Regions from separate parts of the Homo sapiens genome. Here region 1 is linked to region 2. The links are contacts of gene promoters, found by promoter capture Hi-C in blood cells and fetal thymus (Javierre and others, 2016). All regions are on one chromosome and are shown on one strand. Each heading gives the region's core, a stretch centred on a gene start or on the middle of the fragment in contact. The rest is flanking DNA. Distances are from core to core; before and after follow the strand shown. Region 1 has its middle 8.2 kb from the start of KRTAP9-1. Region 2 holds the start of KRT39 (keratin 39).

Region 1 (5,876 bases), core at 2,405-4,904, 230 kb before region 2:
GAGGGATAGCATTAGGAGATATACCTAATGCTAGATGACGAGTTAGTGGGTGCAGTGCACCAGCATGGCACATGTATAGATATGTAACTAACCTGCACAATGTGCACATGTACCCTAAAACTTAAAGTATAATAAAAAAAAGAAAGAAAACAAAACAAAACAAACAAAAAAGAATCAAAAAAATAAATTACAAACTTAAATATAAAATATAAAACTATAAAACTTTTAGAAAAAAATGGAAGAAAATCTTTAGCATGTAAGACCAAAGAGTTCTTAGGTAGCACCAAAAACATGATCCATTAAAGAGAAATTAATAAATTGATTAAAAAAATTATGTTCTGCAAAAGAACAGAGGAGAAAAAGACAAGCTGTGAACTATACATGATATATATTTGCAAATCACATATTTGACAAAGGAGTAGTACCTAGAATGTATAAAGAACTTTAAAAACTGAACAATTAGAAAGCAAACACTAAAAGTACAGCATGGGCAAAAGACATGAAGAAATATTTCATGGAAAAAGATATACAGATGACAAATAAGCATGTGAAAAGATGTTCAACATCATTAGCCATTAGGGAAATGCAAACTAAAACCACGAAAAGTTAGCACACCTATCAAAATGGCTAAAATAAATGCTGGTGAGTGTTCAAAGAAACAGAATCAGTCATACATGTAAAATGGTACAGACACTCTGCAAACAGTTGATGCTGTTGCTTAAAAATTAAACATGCTGGCCGGGCACAGTGGCTCATGCCTGTAATCCCAGCACTTTGGGAGGCTGAGGCGGATGGATTGCCTGAGGTCAGGAGTTTGAGACCAGCTTGGCCAACATGGTAAATCCCTGTCTCTACTAAAAATACAAAAAGTTAGCGGGCGTGGTGGCGCATGTCTGTAATCCCAGCAACTCGGGAGGCTGAGGCAGGAGAATCGTTAGAACCCAGGAGGCGGAGGTTGCAGTGAGCCGAGACAGTGCCACTGCACTCCAGCCTCGGTGACAGAGCAAGACTCTGTAAAAAAAAAAAAAAAAAAAAAAAATTAAACATGTAACTACCATACAACTCAGTAATTGTACTTGTTCACACAAATGTTTGTACATGAATGTTTATGGCTGCTTTGAACTGGAAGCGACCCAGATGTCCTTCAACACATGATCAAACAAACTGTGGTACATACATACCAGAGGGTAATTCTTAGTGACAAAAAGGAAAAACTGTTCAACAATCTGTTTAAATTTTCACGGAATTATGCTGTGTTGAAAAAACCAGTCTCAAAATGTTAAGCACTGTATGATTCTTTTTATACAACATCCTTGAAATGACAGAATTATACAAATGAAGAACAGATTGGTGGTTGCCAGGTATAAAGAAAGGAGTGGGTGTGGGAGGCAGGTGAGAGTGGCTATAAAAGAACAATCAAAAGAGATCATTGCAGTGACAGAAATGTGTTGTACATTGGCTATGTCAATATCAATATCATATGCTGTTGGTGATGTTTTTCTATAGTTTTGGAGGATGTTATTTTTTGGGGAAACTGGGCAAAGAGTACATGGATCTCTTGTATCACATCTTACAATGGCATGCCAATCTCTATTCTTTAAAAATAAAAATTTTAATTAGAAATTTAATTTAACAAAGGAAGAAACAGGTTTTTGTGTGTGTGTTAGTGGTGTTTTTTTTTTTTTTTTGACGGAGTCTCACTGTTGCCCAGGCTGGAGTGCAGTGGTGCGATCTCAGCTCACTACAACCTCCATCTTCCTGGTTCAAGGAATTCCCATGTCTCAGCCTCCCAGGTAGTTGGGATTACAGGCACACGCCACTACGCGCAGCTAATTTTTTTCTATTTTTAGTAGAGATGGGATTTCATCATGTTGGCCAGGCTGGTCTCGAACTCCTGACCTCAGGCAGTCCACCTGCCTCAGCCTCCCAAAGTGCTGGGATTACAGGCGTGAGCCACCATGCCCCGATGAAACAGTTTTAAGAAGCATTTTATCTTTAAAAGGTAGAAGAACATGGGTTTTGGAGATCGGACAAACATCTGACCACTTCCACTGTTACCACGAGATCATGCATCAGACAGAGCTGAGCAGCTTTTTTTTTAAAAAAAAATTTACTTCCATAAGTTTTTGGGGAACAGGTGGTATTTGGTTACATGAGTATGTTCTTTAGTGGTGATTTGTGAGATTCTGGTGCACCCATCACCCGAGTAGTGTATGCTGAACCCAATTTGTAGTCTTTTATCCATCACCCCTTCCATCTTTTCCCCTGAGTCCCCAAAGTCCATTGTATCATTCTTATGCCTTTGCATCCTCATAGCTAGCTCCCACTTACAAGATTTCAGGTTCGGTTTTCCATTCCTGAATTACTTCTCTTAGAATAATAGTCTCCAATTCCATCCAGATTGCTGTGTCATTAATTCATTCCTTTCTATGGCTGAGTAGTATTCCATCATATATACAACCATTTCTTTTTCCACTCATTGATTGATGGGCATTTGGGCTGGTTTCATATTTTTTGCAATTGCAAATTGTGCTGTTATAAACATGCACGTGCAAGTATCTTTTTCGTATAATGACTTCTTTTCCTCTGGGTAGATATCCAGTTTTGGGATTGCTGGATCAAATGGTAGTTCTACTTTTAGTTCTTTAAGGAATCTCCACACTATTTTCCACAGTGGTTGTACCAGTTTACATTCCCAGCATGAGCAGCTTTTTAAATTAAAAAAAAAAAAACTAACTTCTTGGTGAATCTGGATTCATAATATCTGTACTCCATTCTGAGGGGACTTCAGATGTTGGCATGATTTTACTCCAGTATGTGTTTTAAAAAGAAAAGGAAGGACACTCCCTAAATCCAATCCCTAGAAGTTCTATCAACATCCTCTCAAGCCTTTATATCATTTATTTATACTTATATCAAGTACTCTCAAGCTTTTATATTAATTAGACAGGTACAGTAGAAAGCTTTTAGGTTGGGTAGATTCTGATATCGATTTTCAGAAGATTCCAATATTCTTATCTAAGCTGAAAGAAGGTATTGAAACATCATACAAATACCGTGGGAATCTCTCAGAACAACTTACATAATACAGTGTTATCAGTCTTCAAAATTTCTATAATTTCATATAATATCAGTATTATCAGTCTTCAAAATTTCTATAATTTCATGAAGTTCTTAATATCTTAGAAACAAATCTACACTTGTTAACCTCAGTGGGAATCATTATACATGTTCCTCTGATTCTTTTTCCATTTTTCCACATTTTACACATGAGCAAACTCTGAACATAACAAACCTCACAATTCTCCAGTGAGTCAATCTGATGTTGATAGGACTTCCAATATTGGCAGTTCTGGGGGCTCTCTCACACTTCTTAAACTATCAATGTTATAGCTGGGATTGGAATTAGGGAGTGTCATTCCTTTTCTTTTTAAAACACATACTGGAGTAAAATCATGCCAACATCTGCCATCTAGGGGGAATTCTGAATGGAGGTTCTCCAGTGGAAAAATAGGGAAGTTTTGTTACATACATTGTACACTGGACAGAGCTAAAGAAAATGAAAAACCATTTCGTGAAAGCATTACTTGGTCTTGTCCATAATAATATTATATTTTAATAGAGGACTGAAGTGTGGAATTGTCTTTTATGTTTAATGGCAGTCATAGGAAAAATTGCAGTAGGATGTGCATAAACCATCAGAACTCACTGAGGGATCCCAGGGGAAGGAGTGTGATGGGGGAATCACACAAACAGGTGTATGATGTCATGTTACTGTCTAATGATAACAAAGAGCCCATGCCAGTTTCTGAAGACAGACCTGCATGGCTGCAGCTTATATTTTTATTTGGAAGAAAGAGAAAGTGGACAAAATCCGGAGTTGCCTAAAATATAATTTGTATGCTATGGCCTGAAACTTCATAAATGATCCATAAATATGATGGCAAAAGTAAACAAAATTAAAAATGTTTTGTAGGTCTTTATGAGGCAAAGGCATAAATGAGGTTGTATCAGAAGTTGGGGAACATGGGAGGGGCTGCTTCAAGACCTGCAGAAATTACTGTAAGTTGATTGAAGATGGTTTTAAAAAGAACCTGGGACTTATAAATGGGGGTGGAGGTTTGGTGAGCCATGGCAGCTTAGAGAAAAGAGAGAGTCTGAGACAAATTCAGAAGTGCTGGTTACGACACATTGCATGGGGGAGGGAGAGCCACCCAAGGCACTTGAATTTTCCAGAGTGCCTGGCAAAATCTGTTTTAGAACAAATGCATTAGATGCCATTCCGTATTATTAGAACTTCTAGAATATTAGAATGTTCTAAATATTTGCTGAGAAAATAAGCTTTTAGGGCAATACAAGGGATCCTTGTGCTGATGGAGCTACTCTGTGTCTTGAAGGTATCAATGTCACCATTGGACTTGTGATACCGTACTGTAGTTTTGCAAGAAGTTATCATTGGGGGGAAACTTGGTAAAGAGTACAGAGGTTTCTTTGTATTATTTCTTGCAACTGCATGTGAATCTACAATTATCTCAAAAAGTTTAATTATAAAAAAGAAAATAACCTTTGGTTATAATTTCACTTTTCATGCAGGTATATCTATAGGAAGAAAATATCCTGGTCAAAAAGACCCATGAAAATGTCATCTTCTCTTTAAGTTATTTCTCATGTAGATTCTTCAACTGGTACTAATGTTATGGGCTTGGTGAAAGTGAGCCTGCTCCCAGAGGTGGTTTCACTCTTAGAATGTAAATAATTTCAGTTTCTGGAGTGTGCAAGGCTGAAGGCCAGATACTGGTACGTTTTTCAAGGTAGTATTTACTACCCTGGAAGACAGCCTTCCTGTTTCCTCCAAAGGATGCCTAATAAGTATGTATGGCACTTTGTGTTTCTTTTTAAATTTTACATATTTTACATATTTTGTTGCTTATGGACTTCAAAAATCAGCGAATGGTCAATTTTGAATCCAACAAAAACATTTGGGAACTTTTGAAGTATCTCAAGAACTGAAGTGACCTCTGAAGTCCAATAATAATAACCAATTACCAGACACTGCGAATCCTTGGCACAATGTTCTAATGATTGTCCAGCCAACGCTTGCATCCCAATAGTGTTTAGAATTCACATTGCCAGAATAATTTTTGCATTAGCTCCTTCCACTCTAGGCCTCTGGCAATTTTTCCTCATTGGGATCATTTGCAAATGGAATGAACCGAAAGGAATTCCTGTGAGGTTCCTACTCTTACTAGCCATCTTTTCTCCCAGTGCTTCGTCCCAAAAAAATCACCTTAAATTTCTTCTAAGCTCTGGCATCTGCCTTCTTACTGAACAGATGACATTCTTACCAGGCGTATTTCTTCTCCCCAGCCTTTGCAGACTTTAAGATGCTCACTGTTTCCCAAGGTCTTCATCACTGACTTTATTTCTTTATTTTTTTTCACTTTTATTTTAAGTTCAAGGGTACATGTGCAGGACTTTTTTTTTTTTTCAGATGGAGTTTAGATCTTGTTGCCCAGGCTGGAGCACAATGGTGCGATCTCAGCTCACTGCAACCTCCGCCTCCTGGGTTCAAGCCATTCTCCTGCCTCAGCCTCCCAAGCAGCTGGGATTACAGGCATGCGCCACCACACCCGGCTAATTTTGTATTTTCAGTAGAGACAGGCTTTCTCTATGTTGGTCAGGCTGGTCTCGAACTCCTGACCTCAGGTGATCCACTCACCTCGGCCTCCCAAAGTTTTGGGATTACAGGCGTGAGCCACCACGCCCGGCTGCAGGTTTGTTATATAGGTAAACTGCATGTTGCAGGGTTTGGTGTACAGATTATTTTGTCACCCAGGTAATCAGCATAGTACCTGACAGGCAGTTTTTCAATCCTC
Region 2 (6,072 bases), core at 2,405-4,904:
GGACATATACCTAACCATGAAATTGCTAGGTCCTTGGGGGAGGTCCTTTGTCAGAGAGAGAGAGAGAGAGAGAGAGAGATAGTATATTACTGTATAAATAAATATGTGTTTATTTATTTTTATACACATATTTATTTATAGAGTCATGTGCCACATAATGACATTTCAGTCAACAATGATGGAACATACACATACAAAAGCTGTCCCAAAAAACTATAATGTCATATTTTTATTGTACCTTTTCTATGTTTAAATGTGTTTCCAGATAACAAATACTTACCATTGTGTTACAGTTGCCTACTGTATTCAGTACAGTAACATGCTGTGCAGGTTTACAGCCTATGAGCAATAGACTATACCATATAGCCTAAGTGTGTTATAGGCTATACCATCCAGGTTCATGAAGTCCACTGTGATGTTTACACAACAACAAAATCACTAAAGGTGAATTTCTCAGAATATATTCCCATTGTTACAAAAGATATGACGTTGTGTATGTATGTGTTCTAATGTGTGCGTTGGGGGGTGGGTGTATGAAGAGAGAGAGAGAATATTTTAACCCAGGCTGTAGCTTGCCTTTTCACTTTCTTAGCTATTTATCTGATCAACAAAAGGTTTTCATTTTGATGAAGTCTAATCTATTTATTATAGTGTCCTCCATGAGCTTAGAAGTCTTCTCATGGCAGAAGGTTATGAATATAATCTTCTGAGTTTTCTTCTAAAAACTTTAGACTTGAAATCTTCACAATTAAGTGTTTAATCCAACCTGAATTAAGTTTTATACGTAGCGTGAGGTAGAGATCAAGATGTATTCATTTTGGCTATACAAGTATCCACTTGATTCAGCGACAAGTATTGAACAGTATTGAAAAAACAGTATTGAAAAAGCTTTCCTTTTCTCATTGACTTGCTTTGGGATCTTTGTCAGAAATCAATTGACCACATATATGTGAGTCTATTTCTAAACTCTATATTCTTTCTCATTGATCTACTTTCCAACCCTTATGCCAATATCACACTGTTTTAATTGTAGTAGCATTATAGTAACTTGCATGAATTTACATTTCATTGCCACAAGCAATGAGAGTGCTATAGGCAGTGAATGTATCTGTTATCAAACTTTGATTTTTTTCAGTTTGATAGGTGGAAAACTAAAATATCTCAGTATAATTTAAATTTACATTTCTCTTTTCATGAGTGACATTGAGCATTTTTTCTTATTTTAAGTGCCTTTTGTATTTTCCTTTTGGTCACTGTCTAGAGTGTAATTGTAATATTGTTTCCCAGTTTGTCATCTTGTCTTCTGGTTTTACAGGTTGTATTTTTCACCCAAGCACAAGTTCAAACACTGTTATTTTATGGAGTCAAATCTAACAGTTTTTTACGGCTTCTTAATTTTGAGTCATCATTGGAAAAGTCTTCTGACTCCAAATTTATAAAATAATTATCCTTTTGGGCATATTTATTATTTATTTTTCATATCTCAATCTTTGATCTACTTGTAATTCGTCCCACTGTAAAGGATGAAGTATGGTTTCAACATTCCCTGCCCCCACACCAAAGGGAATACAAAATTGTCCCCAAAGTACATATAATACATATAACGGTCTACCTTTTCCCCATGGCTTTTATTTTGTATTTTATTTTATTTTATTAAAAATGAAATCGCACTGTGTTGCCCACCTGAACTTGAACTCCTGGGTTCAAGTAATTCTTCTGCCTCAGCCTCCTACAGAATGGGAGAAAATTTTTGCAATCTGTCCATCTGACAAAGGGCTAATATACAGAATCTACAAGGAACTTAAACAAATTTACAAGAAAAAACAAACAACCCCATCAAAAAAATGGGCTAAGGATATAGAAAGACACTTCTCAAAAGAAGACATTTATGTGGCCAACAAACATATGAAAAAAGCTCATCATCACTGGTCACTAGAGAAATGCAAATCAAACCACAATGAGATACCATCTCACACCAGTTAGAATGACAATCATTAAAAAGTCAGGAAACAACAGATGCTGGAGAGGATGGAGAGAAATTGGAACACTTTTACACAGTTGGTGGGAGTGTAAATTAGTTCAACCAATGCAGAAGACAGTGTGGCAATTTCTTAAGGATCAAGAACCATAAATACAGTTTGACCCAGCAATCCTATTACTTGATACATACCCAAAGGATTATAAATCATTCTACTATAAAGACACATGCACATGTATGTTTATTGCAGCACTATTCACAATAGCAAAGACATGGAACCAACCCAAATGCCCATCAATGATGGACTGGATAAAGAAAATGTGGCACATATACACCATGGAATACTATACAGCCATAATAAAGGATTAGTTCATGTCCTTTGCAGGGACATGAATAAAGCTGGAAACCATCATTCTCAGCAAACTCACACAGGAACAGAAAACCAAACACTGCATGTTCTCACTCATAAGTGGGAGTTGAACAATGAGCACACATGGACACAGGGAGGGGAACATCACACCGGGGACTGTGAGGGGGTGAGGGGCTAGGGGTGGGATAGCATTAGGAGAAATACCTAATGTAGATGACAGGTTGATGGGTACAGCAAACCACCATGGCACTTGTATACCTATGTAGCAAACCTGCACGTTCTGCACATGTATCCCAGAACTCAAAGTACAAAAAATCTCATAATTCAAGAAAAAAAAAAAAGGATGAAAAGGGGCCACTAGCTGAGGATGTGGACAGCCTGTAGAAGCTGGAAAAGGCAAGAAAATGATGTTCCCCTAGAGCCTCCATAAAGGATTAGCAGCAAGTAACTTTCTGAAGAAAATGCTGAGTAAGTATTCCTCAGAAAGAAAACACACCCCTTTCAATGAATCCTATTTAAACATCCAGTATAAACCAACACTGTGATACATTTTTATCTAATGTAATACCACAAGCAAACACCAAGCACTAAAAATGTTATAAAATGTGGACTTTGGAAAACCAAAAGAGAGCTAGTCTCTTTTCCAAGAAATTTCTTATTAGCAATCAAACCCTACCTTTTCCCCATGGCTTTTATTTTATTTCATATTTTATTTATATTTTATTTTATGTTATTACATTTTATGGAAAGCTAAAACATAAATCTAGCAATTATCTTTAAAACAAGACTTTTAAAAGACTAACATTTTAATTCATACTCACATTGTCCTGACACTGAAAATGGGGAAACCATTTGGGCAGAACAAACTAAAATATTGACTTCTGATTTCTAAGTTTACCAATAATTATTAAACATTAATAGTTTCCCTTTTCTAGAGAAGAAAGGAAAAGAAGGATGAACTCATTCCTGGTTAAGCTCAGTGCCAAGTGGAGAGGTCAACAAGAATGTAATGAACTTAGTATACTCACACCTGCTTAATAATGGATGCTGTTAGGACAGTTCCTTTTGAAGACATAATTTGAAGCTCTGGGTCCAATAGACAAGTAGTAGTTATGATGGGTAATAACTTACTAACAGCCTAAATGCACATGTTTATGAGACAAATAACTCTTCTTAAGCAAGTAAAAAGCAGACTAATAAGATGTTCCTACAGGATTTGATATAAACCTGAGAAAGGAAAACATCCCACCTGTGTGACACCACGTAGAAGAGAGGCTATATAAGCACTTCAAAGAGGAAAACACCAAGAGCCTTGGAATTCAGACTCTGTGGAGGTGGCTTGAGCTTTTCATCCTGGTGACCACAGACCTGGAACAAACTAAAGCCAGACACATACTATGGACACCAAGGGCTGTACAACAACCAATTCTCCTTCAACCCCATGTCAAAACTGCTCTAGGATTACAAATGTTAGTACCATCTCTTCTAACAACGGCTGCCATCCTGGTGGCCTTACAGTCAACAACTGTCAACCAGCTGGCCACGTTCTCAGAATTCCCTGGGACCAGGGCTGCCAACCCACTCCTCGCTTTTGTCGCAAGCCCATCTACCTAATGAACAACTTCAATGCCCGTTTTTCTCTGGATGACTGCAGCTGGTATGGTGAAGGCATCAACAGTAATGAGAAGGAGACCATGCAAATCTTGAACGAGCGCCTTGCTAACTACCTGCAAAAGGTGCGAATGCTAGAACGAGAGAATGCTGAACTGGAATCTAAAATCCAGGAAGAAAGTAACAAAGAGCTCCCTGTTCTATGTCCTGATTACCTGTCTTACTACACTACCATTGAGGAGCTCCAGCAGAAGGTAAGATTCCTAAGAACCTGTTTAATCGTGTTGTGAATTAATGGTTTCCAAGCAACAGTTATTTGCTAAACTTTAATATTTTTTGTTCAGTTGATGCTGAAAATTTTTTTGAAGAATAGAAAAATTTCTTGAGTGAAATTGTCATCTTGAGGCAGCATTCAGAGTCTGATAGTATTTCTGGTCAGGCGCAGTGATGCACACCTGTAATCCTAACACTTTGGGAGGCTGAGGCAGACAGATCACTTGAGCCCAGGAGTTCTAGACCATCCTGGGCAACATGATGAAATTCCATCCTTACACACACACACACACACACACACATACACACACAAAAAAAAATTAGATGGGCGTGGTGGCACATGCCTGTGGTCCCAGCTACTTGGGAGGCTGAGGTGGGAGGATCACTTGAGCCCAAGAGGTTGAGGCTGCCATGAGCCAAGATCCTGCCACTGCACTCCAGCCCAGACAAAAGTGAGACTATGTCTTTAAAAATCAGAAACAAAAAGAAGAGTCTCATGGTGTTTCCTTTCTCCAGAAATACACTCTACCATTATAACTAGATGACTCAGGACCAAAAGATGTTAACAGCAAGTTGTTGCCATTTTTTAAATAAAAATAGGGAAACAGAGATCAGAGAAAATAAATTTTGCTTTAATGAGTTTCTAAGCAATTTAGTTTTTATCCATTTTTCAACCATCACCACCTTTTTCTCCTTTTATGCTTATGTTATCATCTCCACATTGCTTGGTTTGTTTCTACACCAAACCTAAGTTTGTTATGCACAGACGTATTCTGCTACTACATATCTGGATTTATTCAGTTTTATTCATTCAACAAATGTTTACTGAGCAGCAACAACATTGGGCCAAACATTGTTCTAGATTCTGGGAAAATATTGGTGACCTTTAAAAAGTCCCTGCCCTCATGGAGTTGACATTCTAGTGGATCATGGTATTTATATAAATTTAGGATGGATTTTATTTTATTTTTTATTTATTTATTTATGTATTTATTGAGATGGAGTCTCACTCTGTCACCAGGCTGGAGTGCAATGGCGCGATCTCTGCTCACTGCAACCTCCAGCTCCCAGGTTCAAGCGATTCTCCCTCCTCTGCCTCTCTAGTAGCTGGGTCTACAGGCACGCACCACCACACCCAGATAATTTTTGTATTTTTTTTTTTTTTTGAGACGGAGTCTCGCTCTGTCTCCCAGGCTGCAGTGCAGTGGCGCGATCTCGGCTCACTGCTAGCTCCGCTTCCTGGGTTCATGCCATTCTCCTGCCTCAGCCTCCCAAGTAGCTGGGACTACAGGCGCCCGCCACCACGCCCAGCTAATTTTTTTTTTTTTTATATTTTTAGTAGAGACGGGGTTTCACCGTGTTAGCCAGGATGGTCTTGATCTCCTGACCTCGTGATCTACCCGCCTCGGCCTCCCAAAGTGCTGGGATTACAGGCGTGAGCCACTGCGCCCGGCCAATTTTTGTATTTTTTAGTAGAGACAGGGTTTCACCATGTTGGCCAGGATGGTCTTGATCTCTTGACCTCGTGATCCGCCCGCCTCAGCCTCCCAAGTGCTGATATTACATGGGTGAGCCACTGCTCTCAGCCTGGATTTTTTAACAACAACAACAAAAAAAATACTTAAAAGTTTCTAGTTAAGTACTTTTTGCTGATCTTTTAGGAAAATAACAGGAAATCTGACTTTCTGAAGTTTTCCAAGCTTTGTGAGCATAGCTATGAAGATTAATAAAAAGTCTACTTAGCCTTCCCCTGTTACTTGACACACACACAAACCCCTTGGTTCTTAAAGAAGGAAATCTTGGTGTTTGCTTCATTTGTGTGTACAATCTCTTAATTCTA

What was found. The method cuts DNA at HindIII sites, captures the fragments that hold promoters and counts their contacts. A CHiCAGO score of 5 or more calls a contact.
Region 1: a fragment that was not itself captured here is called in contact with the fragment with the promoter of KRT39 in region 2 in 1 of 17 cell types (erythroblasts); the score reaches 5.2 in erythroblasts.

What each region holds. Positions count from the first base shown.
Region 1 is chr17:41,195,137-41,201,012 of GRCh38, reverse strand. No RefSeq gene overlaps it. Among named protein-coding and RNA genes, the nearest start is that of KRTAP9-1, 8.2 kb to the right of the region's middle. The HindIII fragment of the contact is 1,378 bases long and covers 2,966-4,343 here.
Region 2 is chr17:40,964,530-40,970,601 of GRCh38, reverse strand. It overlaps KRT39 (keratin 39), which reads left to right and starts at 3,654. Exons shown (of 7, transcript NM_213656.4): 1 at 3,654-4,213. The coding sequence starts at 3,746. The region is part of intron 1 of LOC107985072 (a long non-coding RNA gene); the gene reads right to left. The HindIII fragment of the contact is 5,044 bases long and covers 891-5,934 here.